4 separate regions of the Homo sapiens genome follow, and all the other regions are linked to region 1. The links are contacts of gene promoters, found by promoter capture Hi-C in human tissues and cell types (Jung and others, 2019). All regions are on one chromosome and are shown on one strand. Each heading gives the region's core, a stretch centred on a gene start or on the middle of the fragment in contact. The rest is flanking DNA. Distances are from core to core; before and after follow the strand shown. Region 1 holds the start of MBOAT4 (membrane bound ghrelin O-acyltransferase MBOAT4). Region 2 overlaps RBPMS (RNA binding protein, mRNA processing factor). Region 3 has its middle 62 kb from the start of LINC02099. Region 4 has its middle 92 kb from the start of LINC02948.

Region 1 (6,411 bases), core at 3,423-5,922:
ATATCCTGTCACGAAAAATCTGCACAATCACCGCAGATGAAGTCATTGCAGAATCTTTTTTTTTAGACAGAGTCTCGCTCTGTTGCCCGGATTGGAGTGCAGAGGTGCGATGTTGCTCACTGCAACCTCCGTCTCCTGGGTTCAAGCAATTCTCCTGCCTCAGCCTCCTGAGTAGCTGGGATTACAGGCACCTGCCACCATGCCTGGCTAATTTTTGTATTTTTAGTAGAGATGGAGTTTTGCCATGTTGGCCAGGCTGGTCTCTAACTCCTGGCCTCAGTCTTAGACGCTGTCTTGAACTCCTGGTACAGTCTTAGACACTGTACCTAAGGTGATCCGCCCACCTCAGCCTCCCAAAATGCTGGGGTTACAGGCATAAGCCATCGCGCCCGGCCACTGCAGAATCTGGACTCTTTTTTGTCAGCACCAACACTGGCTTTTGGGGCCCCCTGACTTTCTTCATTCTGTCCTTGCATTCCTTTTGCTGTTTTCTTGATGTCTTTTTCTCTCATCTGGGCTATGTCTTGCAAGTTTATGCTTGGGTTCACTTTTCTTTACATAATCCAGGGAATCATAAATCATGCCACTTATCTTGCTACAACAAAATGGGGTCAGAATCTAAACAAAGACGATCTCCATCTTATATATCATGTCCATGAGATCTTGTACATTTTGGCTGGTTTTTCCCAAATTTCTTTCTTATTACTGTTGCCTTCCCAGAGTGAAGGGTGACCACGACCGTATGTTTCCACCAAAGTTGTCAGTTGATTAAGAACTCCTTTGAATGGGTAGCTGCTGTGTCTTTCATGATAGTGGCCAATTTTCAGGTGGCCAGGGAGGAAAAGAGCAGTGTTTTGTCTTGTTTTTGAGACAGGGTCCCTGTTGCCCAGGCTGGAGTGCAGTGGCACGATCATGACTCACTGCAGCCTTGACCCCCCCGGCTCAAGAAATCCTCCCACCTCAGCCTCCCTAGTAACTGGGACTATCGACACGCACCACCATACCTGGCTAATTTTTTTAATATTTTTTGTAGAGATGGGGATTTGCCATGTTGCCCAGGCTGGTCTTGAACTCCCAGACTCATGCAATCCTCTTGCCTCAGCTTCTCAAAGTCCTGGGATTACAGGCATGAGCCAGGGTGCCTGGCCATTGTTTTTTTAATGTTGTAAAATACCCACATTGATGAAATGGTTTGTGAATCATGCCTCTCTCAGAAGCCAAGGAGATGCAGATCTGCAGAGGCCTGGGAAGCTTCACATTACGCACACTTGGTTCTTCCTTCTGCATTATATGGAGGCTTGTTTTTTAATTGGTGCCTAGTTAATAAAACTGAATGAAGGGGTCAGAAAAAGTGTGGAATAGCAGGGCGTGGTGGCTCATGCTTGTAATCCCAGCACTTTGGGAGGCTGAGGCAGGCAGATCACTTGAAGTCAGGAGTTCGAGGCCAGCCTGGCTAACATGGTGAAACCCTGTCTCTACTAAAAATACAAAAAAAATTAGTAGGGTATGGTGGCGGGCCCCTGTAATCCCAGCTACTCAGGAGGCTGAGGCAGGAGAATCGCTTGAGCTCAGGAGGCAGAGGTTGCAGTGAGCTGAGATCGCACTGCTGCATTCCAGCCTGGGTGACAGAGAGAGACTCTGTTTCAAAAAGAAAAGAAAAGAAAGAAAAGAAAAGCGAAAATAAAAGAAAAGAAAAAAGGACTCACTGGTCCTTTTGACTCGCTGGGAAAGCGACTCAAAGAAGCCTAGGATTTCTCTACCAGCTCAGAACCAGGAAACACCATTGCAAGGCAAATGTGTGTCACGGCTCCGGGCACAGTGCCAAGTACAGGTTAGCAAGAACCACTTTTTTCCTTGGGGGAGAGCGTTAAGTGTCTCAGTGTGAGAGCATCTATGACTCAAAAGCCTGGACCATTCTTGTGCTTCTCTTTGAACCTATGCTTGGGGTGACTTCCCCCCTCAACACCCCAGTTAACATTGTGGTCCAAGCCTTTACTTCCCTGCTATGGGAAAACAAAAGGGGGAACATTTATCCTTTACACAGCAACACTCCCACCCACAGGCAACTCCCCTAGGAGATTTATAAACATTAAATTGTCTGTACATGGACAATGTAGAATGTGTGACTTAGCAATGTGTGACTTAGCGATTGCATATTTCATTCTAGGCATAGTGCTAATAACCCTTTACGAGAAATATATTTATTTAATACTTAAAATAACCCCATGAGATAGGCATTATGTTTTCTGTTCTACAGATAAGAAGAGGGCATTTGGGTGAAGTATATTGATATACACAAGGACACTTAGTTAGGTGAGGGAGTCAAGACTCAACAGGCTGAATCCAAAGTGAGAAGTCTTTTTTATTTTATTTTTATTTTTTTGACAGAGTCTCTCCCTGCTGCCCAGGCTGGAGTGCAGTGGCATAATCACGACTTACTACAACCTCAACCTCTTGGGCTCAAGGGATCCTCCTGCCTCAGGCTCCTAAGTAGCCGGGACTACAGGCATGTACCACCACACTTGGCTAATTTTTTGTACTTTTTGTAGAGACAGGGATTTTGTCATGTTGCCCGGGCAGGTCTCAAACTCCTGGGCTCAAGCTATCCACTTGCCTCTGCCTCCCAGTTACTGGGATTACAGGTGTGAGCCACTGCATCCAGCCAGAAACTGAGCAATCTTCACCCTAAGGTAACTCCATGAGGATTAATCCTTATTTTTGCACTCATGTTGCTTTATTGTTTTGAGAATCTTTCTCAAAAGGAAACTTCTTTACAGCTGTCCCCCAACTCCAATCTCCATTAGTGAAGTTAAGGGCCATGAGACAGTTGTGAACACTTGATCATACCATTGTTTAATCAAATTCCACAATCCTAACTGATCGTTAGATACAGCTATATTTTATTTAAGAATCCCAATATATAAAAATCCTAATTCCCAAAATAAGTGAATTATTAGGAAGTGGCCCTTTGGCAACAGATTTTCACTTTACAAAAGGACATTCCACAAAACCTTGTTAAAAATAGGGACTGTCAGGGAAAAAGGGTTGAAAAACTAACTCTTGGGTACTGTGCTCACTACCTGGGTGATGGGATCAATCATACCCCAACCCTCAGCATCATACAATATACCCACGTAACAAACCTACACATGTACCCCTTGAATCTAAAATAAAAATTGGAATTATTTTTAAAAATGTATTTCAAATTAGCTGGGCATGGTGGTGTGCACCTATAGTCCCAGGTACTGGGGAGGCTGAGGCAGGAGAATCCCTTGAATCCAGGAGGTGGAGGTTGCAGTGAGCCGAGATCGTGCCACTGCACTCCAGCCTGGGCGACAGAGCGAGACTCCGTCTCAAAAAAAAAAAAAAAAAAAATATATATATATATATATATATATATATATATATAAAAATAAATAAAATAAAAAATGTATTTGCGACTTTTCAATTTAACAGAAAATCATGTAGCCATGTTAACAGTACACTCACCATTTCTGTTCTATGTTCAGTTAAGTTCTTGCCTTTTGACTATGTTAAAAACATAAAATCTTATATGAGCAATCTAAAAAAATAGGTGCTGTCTCTAATGTGTTGAGGTTATTTGATATTTAAAAAATCATTACAATCAAGTCATCACATCTCTAGTGATAATTTTTGAACTTCAAATTATCATATAGCTAATCTAACAAGATTCATTTTGACTTATTTCATTTCTCTGAGAATTCATATAAAGGCACTTTAAAAATCACATTTAGTTATAATAAAACTTATACTGATGTAACTTTATATAAAATTTAATTTGATTGAAAATGATAAAATTCCATAAAATTAGGACTATTCAAGAATATCTGAGATCCATGGTTGACAGAGATGTATCCATTTGGAGAATTCCTGTACCATCGCAACAACCATCTCTCCTGAGAGTTTATTTTCACTCATCTGCCATTTAACCTGAACCCAGCAAACCTTACATCAGTGCAGGAAGGATGTGAATTTCCAGTTTAGTTTTACTCTGTTATATATATTCATTATCAAATATCAATAATCAGTGACAGTGAGAGTAAGTTAAAAACAAGTGTAATTAATATATTGTAATCTTCACATCTGCAGTCTACTCTGCTTTTTGCCCTACTATAGTATTTCTGAATTTTTTTTTTTTTTAGATAGAGGCTTGCTCCGTTGCCCAGGCTGGAGTGCAATGGCGCCATCTCGGCTCACTGCAACCTCCACCTCCTGGGCTTAAGCAGGTCTCCTGCCTCCCTCCCGAGGAGCTGGAACTACAGGCATGAGCCACCATGCCCAGCTAATTTTTTTTGTATTTGCATTAGAGACAGGGTTTCGCTATGTTGGCCAGGCAGTTCTCAAACCCCTGGCCTCAAGTGATCTGCCCGCCTCAGCCTCCCAAATTGCAGGGATTACGGGCGTGAGCCACCGCACCCAGTCACTATAGTATTTCTGGATGTAAGAGTAAAAATAGCCATCCAGCCTACCTGGCACGAGTGGAGAATGAATCCATGATGCAGAGATAATTGAAGAGAAGTGCAAAGGGAAATGCAGCCCCCTGGTAAAACGATATAGGATGGAGAAAGAACAGCCAAAGCCACTCCATTAGGAACCAGAACAAAAGAGCCTGTCTTTTCCAGTGTCCTTAACTGATGCCTTCCTCCAAGAGTAATCTCAACCAGGCTGTCTCTGGTCTTTTTATCTGGTTTAGCGGGGCTAGGGTGAGCAAAAGGCAAACAAAAGCTCTGGAGATAAGCAGAATAAAAACTGGCTTTCTGATTGAGGAACTGCACTATGGAAACCAAAACACATTTTGGTGTAACATTAATCATGACATGCACTAAAAACATTGCTTTTGGAAGCGTGGTTTTGTTTCATTGACATAGTATACTATTTACCTTTCCAGTCATCATGCTGTCGTATTTTCTTCACTAAGTTAATGAAAAATCTCATTTCCCAACTGTGGACAGACAACTCTGTGGACTGAAAAGGGGAAACAAGAATGTGACCAGGAGGAAGGGAAGCAGGTTCTTTTCTTTTTCTTTTTTTGAGATAGGGTCTGGCTCTGTCACCCAGGCTGGAGTGCAGTGGCACAACCTTGGCTCACTGCAACCTCTATCTCCCCAGCTCAAGTGATCCTCCCACCTCAGCCTCCTGAGAAGCTGGGGCTATAGGCATGTGCCACCATGCCCAGCTAATTTTTATATTTTTTTTATAGAGATGGGGTTTTGCCATGTTGGCCAGGCTGATCTCAAACTCCTGGTGTCAAGCGATCCTCCTGCCTCAGCCTCCCAAAGTGCTGAGATTATAGGCATAAGGAACTGCACCCAGCTGGAGGCAGGTTCTTAAGGCAAAAACCAAGATTCCCCTTCCTCACCACAACTCTCCTCCTTATGCTACTTTTTTTCGTATCAGTACCTCTTATGTATCTATTTCTCAATTCATTTTCCTGCCCCCTTTACAACATGAGCTCTACAAGGGAAAGACTTTGTTTTGTTGATTACTGTATCCGTAGCACATAGAACACTGCTGAATACATACTATATACCCAGTAAATATTTGTTTAAAAGATTTTGAGGAGGCTGGCTGTGGTGGCTCATGCCTGTAATCCTAGCACTTTGGGAAGGCGAGGTGGGTGGATCATCTGAGGTCAGCAGTTCAAGACTAGCCTGGCCAACATGTGAAACCCTGTCTCTATGAAAAATGCAAAAATTTAGCTGGGCATGGTGGTGGACACCTGTAATCCCAGCTACTCAGGAGGCTGAGGCAGGACAATCACTTGAACCCAGGGGGCAGAGGTTGCAGTGCGCTGAGATTATGCCGCTGCACTCCAGCCTGGGCAACAAGAGTGAAACTCCGTCTTGGAAAAAAAAAAAAAAGGTTTTGAGGATATCAAAGTGTAGAGGGGAAACATTTCAAGAGAATCTTTTCTTGACAAGTAATACAGAAGAGACTTCCTAGAGGCAAGACATCTCTTGGCTAGTAGCGATCCATCTCCTGAGCCCAGGGCATTCCAGGGCTGTCCCTGATCAGTTGTTTTCCCTCTCCAAAGTCACTTGCATGAGCAAGTTGTCAATAAAGGACAGGAAAATCTGACATGAGCATCTTCAGGGCAAGGACCATCTTTTAGTGAGAGACTGTATTCGTCCGTTTTCACACTGCTATAAAGAACTACCCGAGACCGGTAATTTATAAAGGACAGAGGTTTAATTGACTCACAGTTCTGCATGGCTGGAGAGGCCTCTGGAAACTTACAGTCATGGTGGAAGGCAAAGGAGAAGCAAGTACCTTCTTTACAAGGTGACAGGAAAGAGAAGTAAGAGCGCAGGAAGAAAACACCATTTATAAAACCACCAGATCTCATGAGAACTATCATGTGAGAATGATCACGAGAACAGCATGGGGAAA
Region 2 (6,063 bases), core at 3,402-5,901, 410 kb after region 1:
CATCAGATCCCGTTTTTTAGAAATTATTGGATAAGGTAATAGGACTGAAAGCCTCAGTACTGACTTAATGTTTAGAGATCAAAGAGCGACCCTGTGCAGCAGACATCGGATTGCTAAGAAGATCATTAACATTTTTAAAAGTGATCATCCAGTTTACTTTCAAGGTCATTGGTATTTGAAATGTGTTAATTAGGAGAGGAAACTTTCATCTGTTGCTTTCAAAAAGCTTATACACTGAAGAGAGCACACAGCTGTTCTGTCACCTCACATTCACACACTTCCGCCTCTTAGGTTTGAGCTCATGTTCTGCTTTCAGTCTTGTTGTGATGGGCAGAGAGAAAGTCGTTAAAGTATACTGTCCTTACCACATTCTCGAAACACACCATACACCCTGTACTTCAGGCAGAGTCACAGTGTGGGGCCAGAAGCTTCTGTAGGTAAGTAGGACTGAGAGAGAAAGTCCTGGTTACCTAATTCCTTTTCAGAGGCCTCATTTGTCCAGAGTAACAGCAGTTCTATCGGATTTCTAATAGGGCTGCTGTACAGCTTACCTGGACATAAACCAAAGGTTTTAAAATTATAACAGACTGCCTGAGGACAAGGCATGCGTGTCCCTTGGGATGGCTCTGTGACACACTGGAAAAATTTTAAAGGTTAAACCCAAAATAAATACAGAAGTGGACCATGGGAAGAGAGACATAGGCTAACCAGGAAGGGAGCTCACAGAGGAGTAGATGGGCCTGGGAGTAGTGGGTGGACTACCTGAACTGCAGGGCTGTCCCCACCTCCCCTGTATCTGAGCAGTTGCTCATCAGCAGGGTGGGACTTCTGAAAACTAGATTTAAAAAAAAGCAAATCGTATTAAGCATCTGCATCACTATGCCCTGTAGGAAATAACTGAGAAAAAAGACACAAGGACTTCTGCTTTGGTGTCGGGTATGTTTTGAATACATAGAGTGTTGGGGGGTGTCTCGAGGGCAGTGCTGGGTATGGACCTCAGTGCGCACACAGCTCCTTAGGAGTCGCCCAGCAGCGAGACAGCTGTGGATCCCCTCCAGGCGCATGGGAGGCTCACAAGGCAAGGACTCTGATGGTTTTGGCTTCCACCTCCTGTACGGTGGCCAGTGCTGTGAGGGTGGTTGGTCCCACAGGGAAACCTGTGAACAGAGTCATGTCTGGGGCCCCAGGGACATGGCTTCAACCCCTCACCTGGCAGTCCTGCCTCCCAAAAGTAAGGCAGGAGTCCGGAGATTCCCATTGCTTGCTTCTGTGAATCTCAGGTCACTTTAGCACTTGACCCCTGACCCCAGACTGCCTTGTCCTTGAGGCCTGGGATTCCTAAGGTATATACTGTCTGCTCCAGAGCTGTGGCTGTGGCTATCCGGAAAACGACAGCTTTGAAGGACTGCAGAGCTTGCCTTTGGGGCTGTTCTGCCCAAGGCCTTCCATTGTTTTCAGACATAAATGAAATTGTTAATCCTCTGACATTTACCTTTTCCTCTCAACCTGCAGCTCTGTGAAGGTCAGACTGTGAGGAGAAGCCACCCCTTGAGCGCTCCGTCTCCTGATAGTGCCAGCCTGGCCTGGTTTCCTGTTTGGTGAGGCTTTCTAGGAGCACCTGGCTTAGCTCTCACAGGAGGAGGGGCGGACGGGGAGGCCAGGCCTCATGCTCACAGCGCCAGCCTCCTGTGAGAGTGGGCTGGGTCTCCTTTCCTTTCCCAGGCCCTTCCTGGAGGCGATTTCTTTCTTTCTTTCTTTCTTTCCTTTTCTTTTCTTTTCTTTTCTTCTCTCTCTCTCTCTCTCTCTCTCCCCTCTCTCCTCTCTCTCTCTCTCTCTCTCTTTTCTTTCTTTTCTTTCTTTTCTTTCTTCTTTTTTTTTTCTGAGGCAGAGTCTCGCTCTGTCGCCCAGGCTGGAGTGCAGTGGTGTGATCTCGGCTCACTGCAAGCTCCGCCTCCCGGGTTCATGCCATTCTCCTGCCTCAGCCTCCCAAGTAGCTGGGACTACAGGCGCCTGTCACCACGCCTGGCTCATTTTTTGTATTTTTAGTAGAGACGGGGTTTCACTGTGTTAGCCAGGATGGTCTCGATCTCATGACCTTATGATCTGCCCGCCTTGGCCTCCCAAAGTGCTGGGATTACAAGCGCCTGGGGGCGATTTCTATGCCTGCCTCCTGATGCAGGGCCTGTGCTCTGAGCTGCGCCTTTCAGGAGAGCTCTGCGGGGCTTCATTTCCTTTCTAAGCTCATGGCAAGAAATGTAGGGTGGAAAAGACAGGCTCTGGAACTCCCTGGCCACACAGGAGCTCTGCCATTTACACGCTGTGCGACCTCAATTGAGCAAGTTTCTTAACCTCTCTGGGCTTCAGGAAAAGGGCCAATAATCCTTCACATAAACACTTAAGAGAATGCCCGGCATATTAGAAGGGCTTCATGTTTGCTTTAAAGGTAGCCCTTCCCAAGGATCTTTTAAGGGGCACTTGAATTTTCAGTAAGGAGAAGGAAGCCCAGGACTAAGCCTAAGCTACCCACAAGGCCGTGACAGTTAAGACACAGGATGGCCAGCACATGTGGATGACACTAACAGGGGCTGCTAGAGACCTCACGGCTGGAGCCAAATGGAAGACTGGAAAGCATGAATGAATGACGGGAGTAAGATGAGGCATTGCAGTGAGAGCACCACCCACAGCACCGATTGACAGCACCTGCCCTGCTCCTGGCAGTGTGATCTTCACAGCTTACGCCAGCACTGGGAGAGCTTATCCAAAAGAGGGGCCTCCCCAAACCAGGCTGGACACGGCCACCGGAACCCCCTTCTGACAGGAAATACATCCGGGGTGGAGGGGGCTGGGCAGCTGAATCCCAGCGACGGAATGGCCCTTGCCCTCACGAGTTACTTTACACAAACCCGCTGTCCCTGACCTTTCCAGCTGCAGCCTTATCTCACTTTCCTATCGGAGAAACTGGAGAAAGAATCACAGGTCACCCAGCCCATTCCTCCCTGGACTTTCTGGCACTTTCTTCCCACAGTCCTTCTGCTAGTATTCTCCTCAGCCTCATTTCCAGGCAATGGAGTTACAGCTTGTACTTGGGGATATTGCTCTCTTCACAGTTCTGCCAGGAAACCCGAGAATCTGCCCCCGGCCAGGCAGATGCTCTCTCCCTGGTGACCCTCTCCACCTCTTCCGTCATTTGCAGTGAGAGAGACATCAGCATTTTGTCCTTCACCCTCTTTAGAAGCAGTCCTCCAAAACCATCCGTCCAGGGTGTTAGGGAGACGTGTTCTTTTGTCCAGAACTGCTGCTGCTACTGAGGCCCAGGCCTCTCCATGTTGGGCAGTTTTAGGAGGAAATGCCGTTCAGAAACCAGAGTCGGTCCCCTAGTGTATGGCTGTGTGGCTTTGGCCAGGGTCACTCACCCCAAGGAGACTTCCGTAGAAATCACAGTATTATTCAGGATTGCCAGAACATCTCAACGTGGGCCTCCTCCTGACTGGGGGCACCATTACTCTCCATTACTCCATTACTCTCCATTTGGTACACTGTTTTCCAGGTTTCTAAGTGTGTTCCATGTTGTCCTTTGCGGAAGGTTAAACTCCCCAGATCCTACGCGCCTTCTCCCCTGTCCTTAATAGTAGTAAGAGCCCAACCCTGAGTCCCAACAAGTCGCACCTGGAAGTGCCGTCTGCGCTCGGCTCTTCCCTGGGATTAACAACCGCGTGGCCCAACTGTCACAGTCGGGTGCTGCTGAGCGCCTGGCACCTAACTGGGACTCAGTTTTTTAAATCAAACAAACCTGATTTTAATGACAGTTTCTACCCACTCTGCTAAATTTGGGATCCTAGGCAAGTTGGTTTTTAACTGCACGGAGCCTCAGTTTCCTCATCTATAAATGGGAAGAATGAACATCTCCATGGGTTTATTTTGCAGAAAACAGTAAGATGTTTGGCTTAAAGTCATAGTTATGATTAAAATAGTTCTTCCAATGCCTTCCCTTTGTCAGGATTCGATCTGGTGTGGCCCAGAGGCTCCTGAGCCCTCCCTGTAAGCTTGAGAAGCACTTAGGACACAGGGACTCCTGACCAGCACCCTGATAAGAGAAACCTAAGGGCCTGGGCTTTTTGCTTTGGTAAAGAAGAGAAACACCAGAGCCAGGGTGAGAATGGTCCGTGGCTGTGGCGTATACCGAGAGGAGGCCGTCTGGTTGGGTCAGCTGGGTGTGTACCCAAGGTTTTTTTCTTCTGTAGGCATAGGCACCCAGATGCCGTCCGGAAAGTATGTGAACTCTAACTGCTTTGGAAACAAAACCAAGGCCACAGAGAAACTTTGGAATTATAAAATGTAGCCTTCATAAAAGGGGAGAGTGAACTTTTCTGTGAAGAAAACCAATTGTGACAGTAGGGGTAAAGGAAAATCAACTCCAAATGGAATCATGTTTTATTCAGGATTTGTGCTGCCGGTGGGGAAGGCCAGACCCAGCGACAGGATGGGAAAGTGGGACACCCCAACTTCAAGCTTTGTGCGTTCTGCCACGAAGTTCTATGCGCTTCACTGAGCTCAGCTCCTGGGGACCTCTAATGGCCCTTGATAGCAAACATAGTTAAAAATTAACAGACTGACAGAATTAAATATGGATGACAAGCAACCACTGTGGACTTAATCTGACACAGGGTGTTACATGCTTGGGTGCTTTTAACCCAAGTGGCATCTCAAGTGAACTTCTGAGATGTCTGGGCACATTTCACATGCCTGTTTGGAAGCAGGGCTTAGCTTGTGCTTAGGACAGACAGGAAAAGAGTCTAAGAGCCCAGGAGAGAAAATTCTCCCTGGAGGCTTTTGTTTCATTAAACCCAGCTTTGATCAGGCTTACCAGGATGTACTCACAGTCCTAGGACCTTGTCCTTGTGGTCTAGACCTTGTCCCTGCCTGGGCTCGGACCTCAGTAGCACCTGCCATCGTGACTGGAAGATCCGGCAAGAGCACAAGGCCAGCGGGGAGCATGGCCTCCTCCAGCTAGGACTTTCTTGCTCACCTCTTTTCCAGCTGTTGGGGCAGGTGAGATGGCAGCCTTAACCAAGGACCAAGTCATACAAATCTTGACATTCTGCCTAGATCATAGCGACTTAATTGCCCTAGGCAAGGACTATTAGGTGCCAGACAGGTAGTGAAGAATGCTGATGGCGTTTTCATGCCTGAGTCTGCTGAGAAAGAGTATAGGCTGCCGATTCTGGGGGGCAGGGAGAAGAGGAGTGGTTCCTTTACAAGAGGGCCTCATTTCATGCAGCAGCGAAATTCCCAAAAAGTGTTCTTCCAGTTTTGGTGAGTGCTTTTTTAGAAATGGAGGTGAGGGTTGCTGTTTAAAAGAATCTTGCAATCAGCGCTGTAAGGAAGACAATCTTTTTGTATTGCACATCATCCCTCCAGCCTATTCGATGAGTTTGGAGTTTCTTGGACCAGATTATGCTGGGCTTGGCAGCCTCTCTTCAGCCTGGCAGTCTCTGACAGAGCTTGCTGTAATGGCCTAACGTGCTTTATTTGGTGATGCCACCCAAAAGTGGATCCTGAGGTCTGGAGCGAGTAGGGCAGAGCTGATGGTAGGTAGTCACTGTGTGAGTGGTTCCCTGCAGTTGCTCAGTGTTGGGAACGAGCCCCACAGCGAACTTCAGCGCTCCATTCTAGGGAGAGTCATGGAAACCTGCCTGAGAATATCCATGCCTTCAAAACATTAACCCATTAGTTTGAGATAACATTCTTGTCATTTACATAAAACAACTTGTTCAAGCTACTGTGGGTTTTGTTTTGTTTTGTCTTTTGTTGAGGAAGTCTCCCTCTGTCACCAGGCTGGCATGCAGTGGCGCCATCTCAGCTCACTGCAACCTCCACCTCCCAGGTTCACGCAATCCTCCTGCCTCAGCCTCCTGAGTAGCTGGGACTACAGGCGCACACCACCACACCCAGCTAATTTTTTGTATTTTTAGTAGAGATGGGGTTTCACCATAATAGCCAGGATGGTCTCTATCTCTTGACCTCATGATCCACCCGCCTCAGCCTCCCGAAGTGCTGGGATTA
Region 3 (6,434 bases), core at 1,717-4,216, 330 kb before region 1:
TGCCTGTGTGGTCTGAGCAGGCTGGCAATAGGAGGGCTCCCCTTCACAGAAACCCCCAGAGCGCAATCTTGGGGGACACATCGGGAGGCAGCCAGGCATGGGGATTTTCCAGCCTGCCTTCCCCGCCCTGCCTGTGACAACTCAGCTCATGCATCAGGCAGCGAATCCCATTCACGAAGCTGTCAGTGACTGCTGAATTCATTGAGAGACTCGGAACCCATCTCGCCGAGGTTCAACTGTGGGTTAATCCCAGCTAACCTAAATCATTGTTCCCTGAACACAAAGGAATGTGGAATTCTGTGCTGGGGCTGTGTGTCAGCACGGCTTCCTTGCTAGGTAGAAATATATTCAGCCTCAAGCGAGAGAGAATATATGAATATGTGAGTAGCTGGGCAGCTACGCTTCTCCCTCCAGCCAGAGGCTTCCATTTACTGCCGCCCCCAGGGCATCCAGAGGCATGGTTTGGACCACAAAATCCTGTTCTGTAAACAAATGAATCTCACAAGGGTCAGTTTTATTTTTTTCATGCTCCACTTCCAAAATCTACAACTGTAGGATGTTTGCTGTCTTCCCCTTCTACCATAAAGACAGCCACCAGTAGGGGAGGGTATGTGTAGGGGAGACATTGCTGTTTTGGGGCCATCCATTTAGAAAGCATTTGAGGTTACAGTGTCCCTTCATGAGGCACAACTCTGCAAGGACCAGTTCCATAGCATAGTGAGATTAATATGCATATTAGAATCTGTACATAATCTTCACACGCAGTAATTGCAGTCATAGGCTCTAGACATAAAGAAACATGCATTTTATAATAGTACTGGATCAATAAAAAAAACCCAGGAGTTAACATTTAGCTCACAAATTGAAGAAAATATTAAATTCATTGAGAAATAGGCAAACCATAAGGCTGTAAAATGGTCCATTATAGTCAGAAAACTCATCTGCATTGTGAGAGCGCTGAGTACAAGACCTCACCATAAATCTACAAAAGAAAGGCTACTCTTCCAGACTCAGAAGGAGAGAAGGGAACAAAAATCACATTAGCAATGTATATTGCTCCCAGATTACAAAATTAGGGTTTATAGGGAAAAATTCAGCCTGCAGTAATGGTCAGTAAAAATGACCGGTTTTATAGAACCGGAACTTGTAAAGATAAAGGAGAAAAGGCAGCAGGAAAAACATTAAAAAGACTCCCACAGAAACCTGTCCAGAAATAGAAATTCAGAGGACTTCCTGCCCTTTAATAAAATAAGCTCAATTGAGATGAAGCAGAATTATGGATGAAGCAAGGCAAATTATTTGATCAAACTAAGAAATTTTTTTTTAATAGTCATTCAGGAAAGAGCAAAAACCACTACAGTTATCTACCATGGATAGAGGTTGTTCAGAGCTGGTAAAGTAATTAAATCTGTCACCAGTCACCAGGCACGGTGGCTCATGTCTGTAATGCCAGCATTTTAGGAGGCTGAGGTGGGCAGATCACCCGAGGTCAGGAGTTTGAGACCAGCCTCGCCAGCATGGTGAAACTCCACCTCTACGAAAATACAAAAATTAGCTGAGCTTATTGGTGCATGCCTATAGTCCCAGCTACTCTGGAGGCTGAGGCATAAGAATCATTTGAACCCAGGAGGCGAAAGTTACAGTTTCGCCTTGATTGTATCAGCCTGGGCGATAGAGCGAGACTCCATCTCAACAAACAAACAAACAAACAAACAAAAACTGTTGCCAGAAGCTCACCAACTTGCATGCTGTGGCTTGTACCAATGGGTAGGTGCAGCTATGTAGCTAAGCTACACTTCAAGACTTCAACTGCAAATGTATGATAATAAATGGATTAAGCCAATAAAGTTTTATAAGTGCAAACCTAAGAATATATTCTTTAATGGCTGCTATGAAATATGCTGGAATAGGGCCAGAATATTAACACACATTCTGGCCAACACTTCAGACGTTTGGTTATTTAAGAGAAGTAATAGAGGCAGGGAGTTCCCCATCCGAGCTGTCTTCACTGCATTCACACCCACAGTCGTGAATGAAGGATCACTGTGAACCCAGCATTGCATCTAATGCTCCAGACACAAAGGTGGGAAGTTTCTTAAGATGCTCACAGTTAACTAGCACAAAAAAAAATTTTTTTTCAATCAATGCATGATGTGTAATAGGAGGCTGTGAGGGAAAGCAGGCTTGGGAATGACTTCTGTAAGAGGCTGGAAATCCTCTTTGCATCAAAGATAGCCATGTAGCCAAGCTATGGCCCTTAAGACAAAGTCAGAAATTTAGTTTTGTTTTAGGGGGTCTGGGATTGGGGGCTTCTTTGAAAGTTTTTTGTGATTTAAAAGGAATGACTTAACTGCTGCAAAACCCCCCCGCAGTCACTCTTTTTTTTTTTTTTCTATCTTTTCTCTTTTTGGCTTACGTAGAGATGTGAGCAGGCACCATAGCAGCTGTCTTGCAACCATGAGTAAAAGGCTAAGGAAATTGCAGAAATAACCCTGGCACCAGTATGTCTGCATTCTAATGTCACAGTAACCCCGACTGCTAAGCCAACACCAGTACCTGCCACCTACTGATGTCTTGTTATAGACAAGAAAAAAATCTACCCAGGTGTGTTTAGACCACAGTGGTTGGTGCAGCCAAATGCATTCCTAACTGACACATTTTCTAAGGAGTCTATCTCATGCTGTAACTCCACTAGTCAAATGTTGACACTGGTGCCTTATTGCTGATGAAGTCCAAACTTGTTTGCCTTTATTGTTAGTCTGACTTCTCCCTTCCTTTCAGCATTACCACCCCTGTTCCCAACATGAGACTCTCCAGTGGAGCCAGGATGGCCTCTTCCCTCTTGTTCCAGCTAGCAAATTAAATTTTCCTGCTGGAAACTCCTGTAGCCCTTGAAGAGTTGCACAATGATACACTTCTCTGTTTCCACCTGGTCCCCAGTGCTGAGCACTTTCTGAGGGCCAGAACTAGAGCACATGTTTACTTTTCCATGTCTCCCATGATAACTGGCATGCTACTGAGCACATCTGGGGAGACAGTAACAGAATGTCTGGCAGAAGCAAAGCTTAGCTAGATCTGCTCCAACCCCCTCCTTTTGATTGGACGGCCAAGACCCAAAAAGGTGAAGGGAACTCACTCAGGGTTACACAATGGAGTATTAATAGGCCCAGAATCACAACCCCAGGCTGCTGTCTCTTCGATGAGCATATTTTCCACTATACCTCACTGTCTAAAAGAAAAGTGCCAATTAGAGGCACACAAAGTAACAAAGCTGGTGATGACTATAATGGATGATTACGTCTTTTCAGAGGGCATGAAAAAGAGAGCTGAGTAGAGGCTGATGTGAAGGAGCTTCTTCAGTGTATAATTAACTGTTGGCTTCTTTGTATTGTTCCAGTAATGAACTCAGCAATGAGCTGCAGAACACCCTTGCCTGAAGGGGCAAGAATAGCAATGCCAGTCTTGTCGGAAGACTGCTTATGGGCTGGGGTCTTTGGCGAGCTCTGAGTCACTGGGTCCATTTCCCATTCACATGCATTTACGATGGAGCCTGACATGTACCTCAATGCCTCTCCTCTTTCTAACAGGCTGGGAACTGTGCTGTAAGCTGTTTTGTTGTTTGTTTTGAGACAGAGTTTTGCTCTTGTTTTCCAGGCTGGAGTGCAACGGCGCCATCTCAGTTCACTGCAACCTCTGCCTCCCAGGGTTCAAGTGATTCTCCTGCCTCAGCCTCCAAAGTAGCTGGGATTACAGGCGCCCGCCACCACACCCAGATAATTTTTTGTATTTGTAGTAGAGATGGGGTTTCACCACGGTGGCCAGGCTGGTCTCGAACTCCTGACCTCAGGTGATCCACCCACCTCACCCTTCCAAAGTGCTGGGATTATAGGCGTGAGCCACCATGACAGGCCCGCTCTGAGCTGTTTTGAGAAATGAAGCTTCAGAGATTATGAAAGACTGTGATCCCCAGAATGACTTGACTGGAGGCCCCTGAGAAGATGGAAGTTGTTGATTCACAGTCATAAAATCTTAGATTTTGGAGCCAGATGAAACCCTGGAGATGACCTAGTCCAATCTCTTTATTTTAAGATGGAAAAACTGAAGCCCAGAGACAGAAAGTGACTAGCCTGCAGTCACACAGCCAGGAGTGACAGAACTGTCAGATGCTGTGTTCCTCTGCTGCTTCCTGGATACACACACTGCTGGACACACCTCCCAGGCCTTGGCTCTCTGACGCCAGAGTGTCAAATGTCTTCCAGAGCCCCCTGAAGTGTCATGCTGCTTACTGGAAAGATACGTGGATTGCTACCTAACAAGAAATGAGGCAAAGCCATTTTTTTCCTCCCCAGCTAATCAATAACTGGACACAGGGGCCTCCCTTTCTTGAAACATGATCTAAAATACAACATAGGGTGAGTGAGGGATTTGGCAAGACTGCCAGTCCCTTTTGTTTAAACACAGAAGCCAGACAGATCAATGGATAGGGTGAACTACGTTGTATGATGTCGTTTGTCTTAATATCCAATATGAGGCTTTAAAACTAAGTTTGCAGAATCACAAAGAATAAGAACTAAAAGAGAAGAGGAAGCCAAGGAGCAGAGTCTGTCCAGAGTCAGATATCTCAACAGTGACAGAATCAGTATTAATAGTGAACGAAAACTCTGGGCAAGATAACACACCAAGTTATTAAAAGGCCACGGAGCATTTATAAAAGGCACGTATCAATAGAAATGTTGAATTACAAATTCAAACCCCTGTGACCTGCCTGGTGTTCCAGCTCAGTGGTTTTCCGATATCTATGCCAGAGCCACTGAGGCTGCACCTCAAATCAAGGCTGGCTGAGGTCACAAATCAGTGCAGGTGTCCAGAACTCCCGGCTTGGCAAGGGAAGCTCCTAAGATCACCATCCTGAAATTCTTAATTTTATCTTGGAATTCCTATTTCTGACGGGAAAGTGAAGAATGCACTAGGATGTGGGAGCCTTGTTTCACACTCAGGCCCCACCACCACAATCTCCCTGTTCCCTGGGAAGGGTTCTTCACTGCCTCCCGGTCCTGGTGCCCTGCCCTTGCCCCACCTCCCCCACCCCACCCCACAAGGGATCCTGCCCACTGCCTGGGGCATCAGTGAGCTCACTTAGGCTGGGGATGGGGCGGGGTGCAAGCTGTCATTCTCTCATCACTCTCTGCCTCCAGTGAGAACCTGTGCACAGACAAGGATGCTGGAAGGTTCAGGGGTGTCTCAGGGCAGGGCATGGTGGTCGCTGTCCCCATCCCTGGCTGGCAGCTGTCCTCATCTCCGGCTGGCAGTACCATGGCTGTTCAGTACACATCCAGGCAGGTGTGAGCCTCTGCCTACCCAACCCAGGTCCCAACCACTTCTCAGTGTTGAGATTGCGATCCCTTGAGAGTCTCCAGTCCTCTGTGAGTTAGGGCTGACTCCCATAACCTGGCTGGGCAGAGAACATCAATCTGGGGGCTGACAGAGAATGTCCTGTCCTGGAAGCTAGTGGGTAACACTGCAAAGTCACAAATAGGGGTCCCCAGGCACTTGTGAGAGTCCATACTGACCCTTGCAAATATCCCCATGCCTGAGGGAGTGCAATATCAAATAGCAAAAATTTTTAAAGCATAATAGGGAAAGAAACCAGAAAGAAAAGAAAGAGTTTAATATTTTGGAACCTTTAACAGCACTTTTGTCTAGCTTTTGAATAAGGTGCCTGCAATTTCATTTTGCACTACAGCCCACAAATTAAGCAGCTGGTCCTGCCTCAAGCTTAACCCAGGCCCTGGGACCTATCACATCCATATAGGACGTTAAGGATCCAAATGACTTGGTAATGCATGGAATAAGAAAGTAATCCTTGCTTGAATGTGTACTTTAATTTCTGCCCTACCTTGTACTCCAGAGTTATTGCTACATTCCTGTCTTGGTCTCTTTGCCTTACTTTCCAATTGGAGTTTTGCTCTAGAACAGGGGTCCCCATCCTCTGGGCCATGGAACCATGCTGGTCCGTGGTCTGCTAGGAACCAGGTCACAGAGCAGGAGGTGAGTAGCGGGCAAGTGAGCATTACCACCTGAGCTCCGCCTCCTGTCAGATCAGCATCAGCTATAGATTCTCACAGGAGCATGAACCCTATTGTGAACTGTGCCTGCGAGGGATCTAGGTTGAGCACTCCTTGTGAGAATCTAACTAATGCCTTATGACCCGAGGTGGAACAGTTTCATCCCGAAACCATCCCTGCTCCCATCCATGGAAAAATTGTCTTCCACGAAATGGGTCCCTAGTGCCAAAAAGGCTGGGGACCCCTGTTCTAGAACACCAATCCCTAAGATCTGCTACCTACATCTTTCTAAAGTTACCTGCTTGTCAAAATATTCATCCTCTCCTCCTATAGGAATCTCTCAGGCCTCATATCCTGGGCCAGTGGGCC
Region 4 (6,372 bases), core at 541-3,040, 490 kb before region 1:
AGCAGGCCTTAGAACTCTAGGGTTTTGGACTTCTGATTTATCTTCCTATCTCTTATTTCTTCTTAAATATATCAGAACATCCAGGGGTTTTTCTTTAAGGATGTTAGAAAGTAGTATCAAGGTGCCTTCCTCCCATCACTAATAATGGTCCTTTCTTGAAATTTCTGGGGGGAAAAAGCCATAGGGTAAAGATCCTATGAGAATCCTGCAAATGTTAAGCTATTTGAACTTGGGTAAGCTCCACCTTCATTCATCAGTGCTTTCCCATTTGAGTATTTGCTCTCTTTCGGCACTTGGGTTATGTTAGAATCATGTTCCCATCCAATTCCATAATAATCAGAGATCCAGAGCTTGGGGCTGGCTGTGCAGGCTTGAAGACCTTGCCTGCTGAGCCCTACCCTACACTGCACCCCACACAGGACCACTGCACTGACCTTTGGGGACAGGTCACCAACCCCGTGTCTGAAAAGGTTCTCACCATGAGGATGGGCATCTGCTACTTCCGTCGACACTCAGATATGACACAGAAGGACTTAGGATTCCAGCCATCCCTAAGTGGGCTGGGTGTCCCAGCTGGAAGCAACATGCACTTCGATGGGTTTAGGTTTAAACTGCAGCTTGACCACTTATTAGTAACTTCAGGCAAGTTACTGAATCTCTGAGAACTTCAGTTTCTGTAAATATAAAATAAGAATTTGGATCTAACTTTCAGGGTTGTTGGAAATGAAATAAATACCTAAGATCATACATGGCACATGGTATTCAACAAATTTCATTCTTATTTACTTAATAGACACATCCATGACACTCTGTAATAGGCTCTGTTCTAAAAGCTTAACAACCATTAACTTAAACCCCTTCTATTTTCCCCGTGAAGATGACTGCACTGACAGTGAGAGGGGTTTCATGGAGCAATGGGCTATATCAGAAGGTCTTTGGAAATAGAAACACCTTGTCTTCAATGAAAACCATTCACCCTGCCTCTCAAGCATGAAACTAGAAGTTTTTCTAGACTCCCAGTTAGTGGTTTACTTAGTTAGTTCAGATTATTACCCACATGGGTCATAAGTACCGAATATTGTGATGATTAATAATATGGATAATTTCAATGTCTAGCATCAACTCTTGATGTGTTTTCTTGACACCTCCCCCCACCTTTTTTTTAATAGCAGACATACACTGGGCCCATGCCTGTCACCCTAAGTTACTTATGCTTCCCAAAGGCTATGCTTCTCCTCTTTGCCCAAGCTGCCCTTAGTCATGAGTTTGCCTGGCAAAGTCTTCTAAGCCTCATCTCAATTGTCACTTTATCTTGGCCTGTGAGATCTTTCCTGACCTTCTGGCTTGCATAGATGACTCCCTCCTGGGGGGACCTCTATACCCTGCCGTGGTCCAGAGATACAATCCTCTATACCCTGCCCGTGGCCCAGAGATACAATCTCTTACAGAGGTTGTATCTTACTCTATGGTATCTCTAGCACCTGGTCCAGTGGCCCATAGTTAGGAAGAAAGAGTGAGAGGAAAGGAAGGAAGAAATGGAGGAAAGAAACGAAAAAAGGAAAAGAAAGAGGGAGGAAGAGAAGAAAGAGGAAGGAAGGAGGAAAGGAGGAAGACTTCATTGGTTAATCAGCCAATGATCACATCAAAGCAGCTTGTCACTGCTGGTCACTGTTACCCACCCTCACCGCTCTGCAAGGTAGAAAGTGGAGATATGGAGGTCCAAATGCCAGATGCAAAATGTTTGTCTAACTCGGCAATCAAACAGCCATGTTTCAGGTGTTCTAGAAGATAAATGCTCACCTCGAACATGAAACTGTGTCTTCTTTCACTGTCTTGAAAAATACACAAGACAAAACATTTCCAGAGCCGGAGGCAGGACAGGTGAGCTTTGGATATCAGGACCAAGGGCCGGTTTCACTAGCGCAGGTCACCCCAGCTCACTCTTTTCCTGAGAAGAGGTGGTGGAACAGTGGGGACAGGGTGATGGTCCCCAAGGGAAGAATGTACCAGGTGGGGCTTTCGTGCAGTGGAGGCCTCTGTACCCTGAGGCCCCAGCTCTTCTGCACCACTGCATCTACCCCGGATCCCGAAGTTGCCCTGCTTGGCATTCACCATCCCAACATGAAGCTGGAGTTGGAGCAGTCAATGGGGCATGGTGGGGATGCAGTGAGAGTATGAGTGGACTGACAGCAGGAAGCCTTCATTCATTCATTCATCCATCATCCATCCATTTACTCATCATCCATTCACTCTACATATGTTCCTTGATTGACTAATATATGTTGGAGATACATTGATGTAAAACAAAAGCCTTACTGATGAGGAGCTCCAAGTCCTGCCATCTCTGTGTGCCAAGTTCTCATCTATAAATGAGAAGCATGAATACTTTCGAGGGCATAGTTCTGCATGACGGCAATTCATAGTTAAATGAATTCTTCTCTCCATGAATTTAAAGCAAACCCACACAATTTTGCAGATTTGTTTGGGAGACTTGTAAACACACTGAAGGTCATTTCACGAATACCAGGTCAAAAATTCTTGGGCAAGAATGTGGTTCTCTGTCTTCCTACCCAAAATTCATTCCTTGATTCTATAGTACAGCTGCTCTAACAGAGACTCCTTTAAACATGGTATTTTCTAACATTAAACAAAGGTTTCAGTCTTTGACGGAGGCAGGCACAAGACAGCATCTTGTTTCAAAGCAACGCAAGGAAACCAACTGGTGGGGAAGAAAGTGGGTAGGAGGAATACGGAGTGCCCTGATCTGCCAGCTCACCACCTTCCACATCCACTCCCACACTCAGCCCTGCCTTGCTAAGGGGGATTCAAGAAGCCCTATGTCTGTAGCTTACCTGGCTTAACAGGGAGTTAGTCTGGCTGACCAGCCTTCTCTGACTTGCACAGCTCAGTTCCTAGTGCCTGGAGTCCTGCCTTGGGGATTCAGGTTTTGCTTCTCACTCTGGACTAACCTTCAGAGCACTGGGTGTTTTCCCACCCAGCCCTGTTTTGCCCCTCGTTTTGTCAGAGCTTCCATCAAGATCTCACACTTCAGAATTCTGCTAAAGGCACATACAGCCTGGCCTGAGCATTTCCTTAGGGTTTGGCTTCTCTGTTTCAGACCAACAGAAATTCCTACACCCCTAACAGCCAATAGCCAAGGCAGCAGGGCCCTAGCTATTTGAGAGTTTGGTCCCCACTATGCCCCCTGTCGGGAATGTCCCCTTCTGTCATGCCATCTCTAATCCATCCTGCATCGCCCCCCAGCCAGGATACTTGGGAGTCAAACAGGAGCTGAAGAGCTAGAACAGGGCTAGAGTGAGACACGTGAGGCATTTGGAGCCTGAAACTTAGAGACACTCATGCTTAGTGTTCATCCCCCTCTCTCACCTCCATTGATCCTCTCCTGGTGAGGAGACCTCCTCAACCTGGAATAGACTTATGCACTCTCTAGAGAAAAATATTTTTAATTTCTGTTTTTAATTACTGGAAGGGACCACATGGTTATATATAAGAAATCCTACTGCTTCGGGAGGAAAATTCATGGGGAAGAGGAAAGTATTTTGTATCAGGCACAGCAAGTGTTGTGGCTGCTGATTAACGTGATTAATCCCTTCATGAAAAACAGCATTTTTAACGTTGACATGAGTAATCACACCTTTTCTTTCCGTAGTAGTTTAGCATTTCCTGTTATAATAATTCAAGCCTAATGCCTCACTGAAGGAAGCAGAAGTGTCAGCGTGTTATTCATTTTCTCCACGTTGTCCCATTTGTTTCTTCATAAACTCTGGCGGAATCTGCCACCAGGCTGTCGGACCTTGGTGATTCAGGGTGGACGTCAACTGAAATTCTAAAAGGGCATTGCCTGGAATGACCGACGCACAAAGGATATTTCTCAAGTTGGTGACAACTCAATGACCCAGTGACTCGGTCATAAGTCTCTTGAGCTGTGGGGTCCTCTGCTCTTATATTTTCAAGGCTATTGTCTAGGGAAAGGCAGGGTGGAATAGAGGAAAAATCCTAAGACCAGGGCTCAGGTCTCTTGGGTCCTCATCCCAGCTCTGTGGTCTAATTTTGCCAAACTTCTTGACTTCCCTGGGCTTTAATTTCCTCATCTGTACAAAGAGAAGACTGGCTGAGAACAGAGGCAAAATGGTTGTCACGCTTTGGCAATCAAACAGCCGTACATGTTTCAGGTGTTAAGGAAGATAGATGCTCTAACACAAAATTCTGTCTTCTCTTACTCTCTTGAAAAACAAACAAGACAAAACATTCGCAGAGCTGGAGACAGGAAGAATGAGCTTGGAAGATCAGGACCACGTGCTGGTTTCACTACCTCTGGTCACCCCAGCTCATTCTTCTGCTGAAAAGAGGCAGGAGAACAGTGAGAACAGGGTGGTGGTCCCCAAGGGAAGAATGATCAATGGAGACAGTTTCATGATGCCATTCATGAAATTCATCAGAATTTCATGATGCCCCTTGGGGTGACTATCAGGGTTTTAAGTTATTCTTGAGAGTTTCTCGAACGCTTTTCTGTCTTTGTTTTCTAAAAGACTTTGATGATGGCAGTGGGAGCTCAGATTCATGTTGGAGTTACCATTCTGGTTTGCCAAGGTAGTGGAGGAATGTGGAAAGACGTCGCTGCACTTTAGTCCTGTACTTCTGACCTGTACTCAAAGGCCTTTCCCTTCCTACCCTGGGGCATCTCCCCACACAGGAGCTTCATGCCAGCTTCCCCTCTGCTGGGGTTGCCAACTCATGACTCCCTGGGGGAGGCCTCCGCACTAGCCTGCCAGCACCTTCTTCTTTCCTTGAAGGCTTGTGACTCATAGCTGCTGTGTAACGTGTGGCACCCCCAGACAGGAACACATCTTGCAAATTGCATCGGGGGCTGCTTCTCTGGTCTTCCTTCTGGATACCAGATTTGGAGGTGCCAAATGGAATTGAATTCTTTATAGGTTAGAGAGCATTTAACTATACCTGGCAGGGCTCTTTAACTCAGACTTTAGAGTTTTTTTTTCATATCTATACACACACACAGATATATTTCATAATAGGCAACATGACTAATATTTGCAGTATTGTTTTGATTCTATCAGTGCAACTGGTTCACTCATTCCTGAGTGTCTAAACATCATTAAGATTCTAAAGGTTTGCTCTGAAGAACATACTCAGAATAAGTTCTGGTATTTTTCTCTGGACATGTTGTTTTCCAACTACTTAGAGAAAACAACAAAGTGGGATAAGACTGGATAGGCAAATAGGTTTGATTTTATTTGCCAGTGCCAGTTGATGTATCATGGCTTCCTCGTGGCTGTGTTGAAAGGGATCGTGAGACACTGACTTGGCAGGAAGAGGTGCCTTGGCAGGAAGAAGTGCCTAGTGGATGAGCAATGCCTGCTCTGGGCAAGGAGGGGACCAAATAGCATGTGTGCCACTTTTAGACCCTCCCTGGACAATATCTTTCCAGCCACTGCCTGCCTCATCCTCCTCCTTGAAACCAGAGGGCAAGGCATGATGTTCCACCGATAGGATTATTGTCTATGATGGAGGAAAATCCTATGAAACTATGATTATTTCAGTGATAAACCAAACTAGAGAGTAAGTTATTACATAATTCTGGGGACTTGCTGCCACATCAACATATCGGTGGATTCTGTTGAAAATGAAGTCATTGTAGCTTGAAAATGAAGTCATTGTAGTGGAGACTAAAATGATTTAGTTGGGACTTCCTGACAATGACAAGAAGGGGAGTAGAGAAGGAAGTGGAGATGCCATACAATTTGCTACACGGTTATAACTGCACACGCAGCAAGTTACAGATGACTCTTACAGGATCCTAACACTAACCTCCATTTCCTCCTTACTAAGAATGTGGCAAATTCTTAGCTCTTCAGGACTACAGTAAATCTGGCCAATTTTGTGTGTGTCCTATTTAGATTTATTATTTTTTTCTTTTTAAGAGACAGGGTCTCACTCTGTCACCCAGGCTGGAGTGCAGTGATGTAATCATAGCTCCCTGCAGCCTTGGACTCTTCTGGGCTTAAGTGATCCTCCCACCTTGGCCTCCCAAGTAGCTGGGACTGTAGACACATACCATCATCCCTGGCTAATTATATTTATTTTTTGTAGAGACAGCGTCTCACTATGTTGCCCAGGTCAGTCTCAAACTCCCAGCCTCAAGTGATTCTCCTGCCTTGGCATCCCAAAGCACTAGCATTACGAGCATGAGTCTCCATGCTCAGCCCTATTTAGATGTCTTTATCTTGGTTTATCAATGCTGTCTCCTTTGCCTCCTAGTACTCGTTCTTACGTCTCTTTATGCTGGAACAAATTCTTCCTCCCATGAGGGCTCGCAGAACACCAAATGCTGAG

Evidence for each region. The method cuts DNA at HindIII sites, captures the fragments that hold promoters and counts their contacts. A contact is called where the count stands out against the background at its distance.
Region 2: a contact is called between a fragment that was not itself captured here and the fragment with the promoter of MBOAT4 in region 1, in 1 of the 25 tissues and cell types used here (aorta).
Region 3: a fragment that was not itself captured here is called in contact with the fragment with the promoter of MBOAT4 in region 1 in 1 of the 25 tissues and cell types used here (heart right ventricle).
Region 4: a fragment that was not itself captured here is called in contact with the fragment with the promoter of MBOAT4 in region 1 in 1 of the 25 tissues and cell types used here (hippocampus).

The regions. Positions count from the first base shown.
Region 1 is chr8:30,139,993-30,146,403 of GRCh38, forward strand. MBOAT4 (membrane bound ghrelin O-acyltransferase MBOAT4) reads right to left here and starts at 4,673. Exons shown (of 3, transcript NM_001100916.2): 1 at 4,491-4,673. The coding sequence starts at 4,609. The HindIII fragment of the contact is 8,892 bases long and covers 1-6,411 here.
Region 2 is chr8:30,547,988-30,554,050 of GRCh38, forward strand. All of the region lies in intron 6 of RBPMS (RNA binding protein, mRNA processing factor), which reads left to right. Among named protein-coding and RNA genes, the nearest start is that of SMIM18, 88 kb to the right of the region's middle. RefSeq lists enhancers at 498-557, 1,221-1,880, 2,705-2,999. The HindIII fragment of the contact is 4,833 bases long and covers 2,236-6,063 here.
Region 3 is chr8:29,807,222-29,813,655 of GRCh38, forward strand. No RefSeq gene overlaps it. Among named protein-coding and RNA genes, the nearest start is that of LINC02099, 62 kb to the left of the region's middle. The HindIII fragment of the contact is 3,779 bases long and covers 1,078-4,856 here.
Region 4 is chr8:29,650,854-29,657,225 of GRCh38, forward strand. No RefSeq gene overlaps it. Among named protein-coding and RNA genes, the nearest start is that of LINC02948, 92 kb to the left of the region's middle. The HindIII fragment of the contact is 7,238 bases long and covers 1-5,409 here.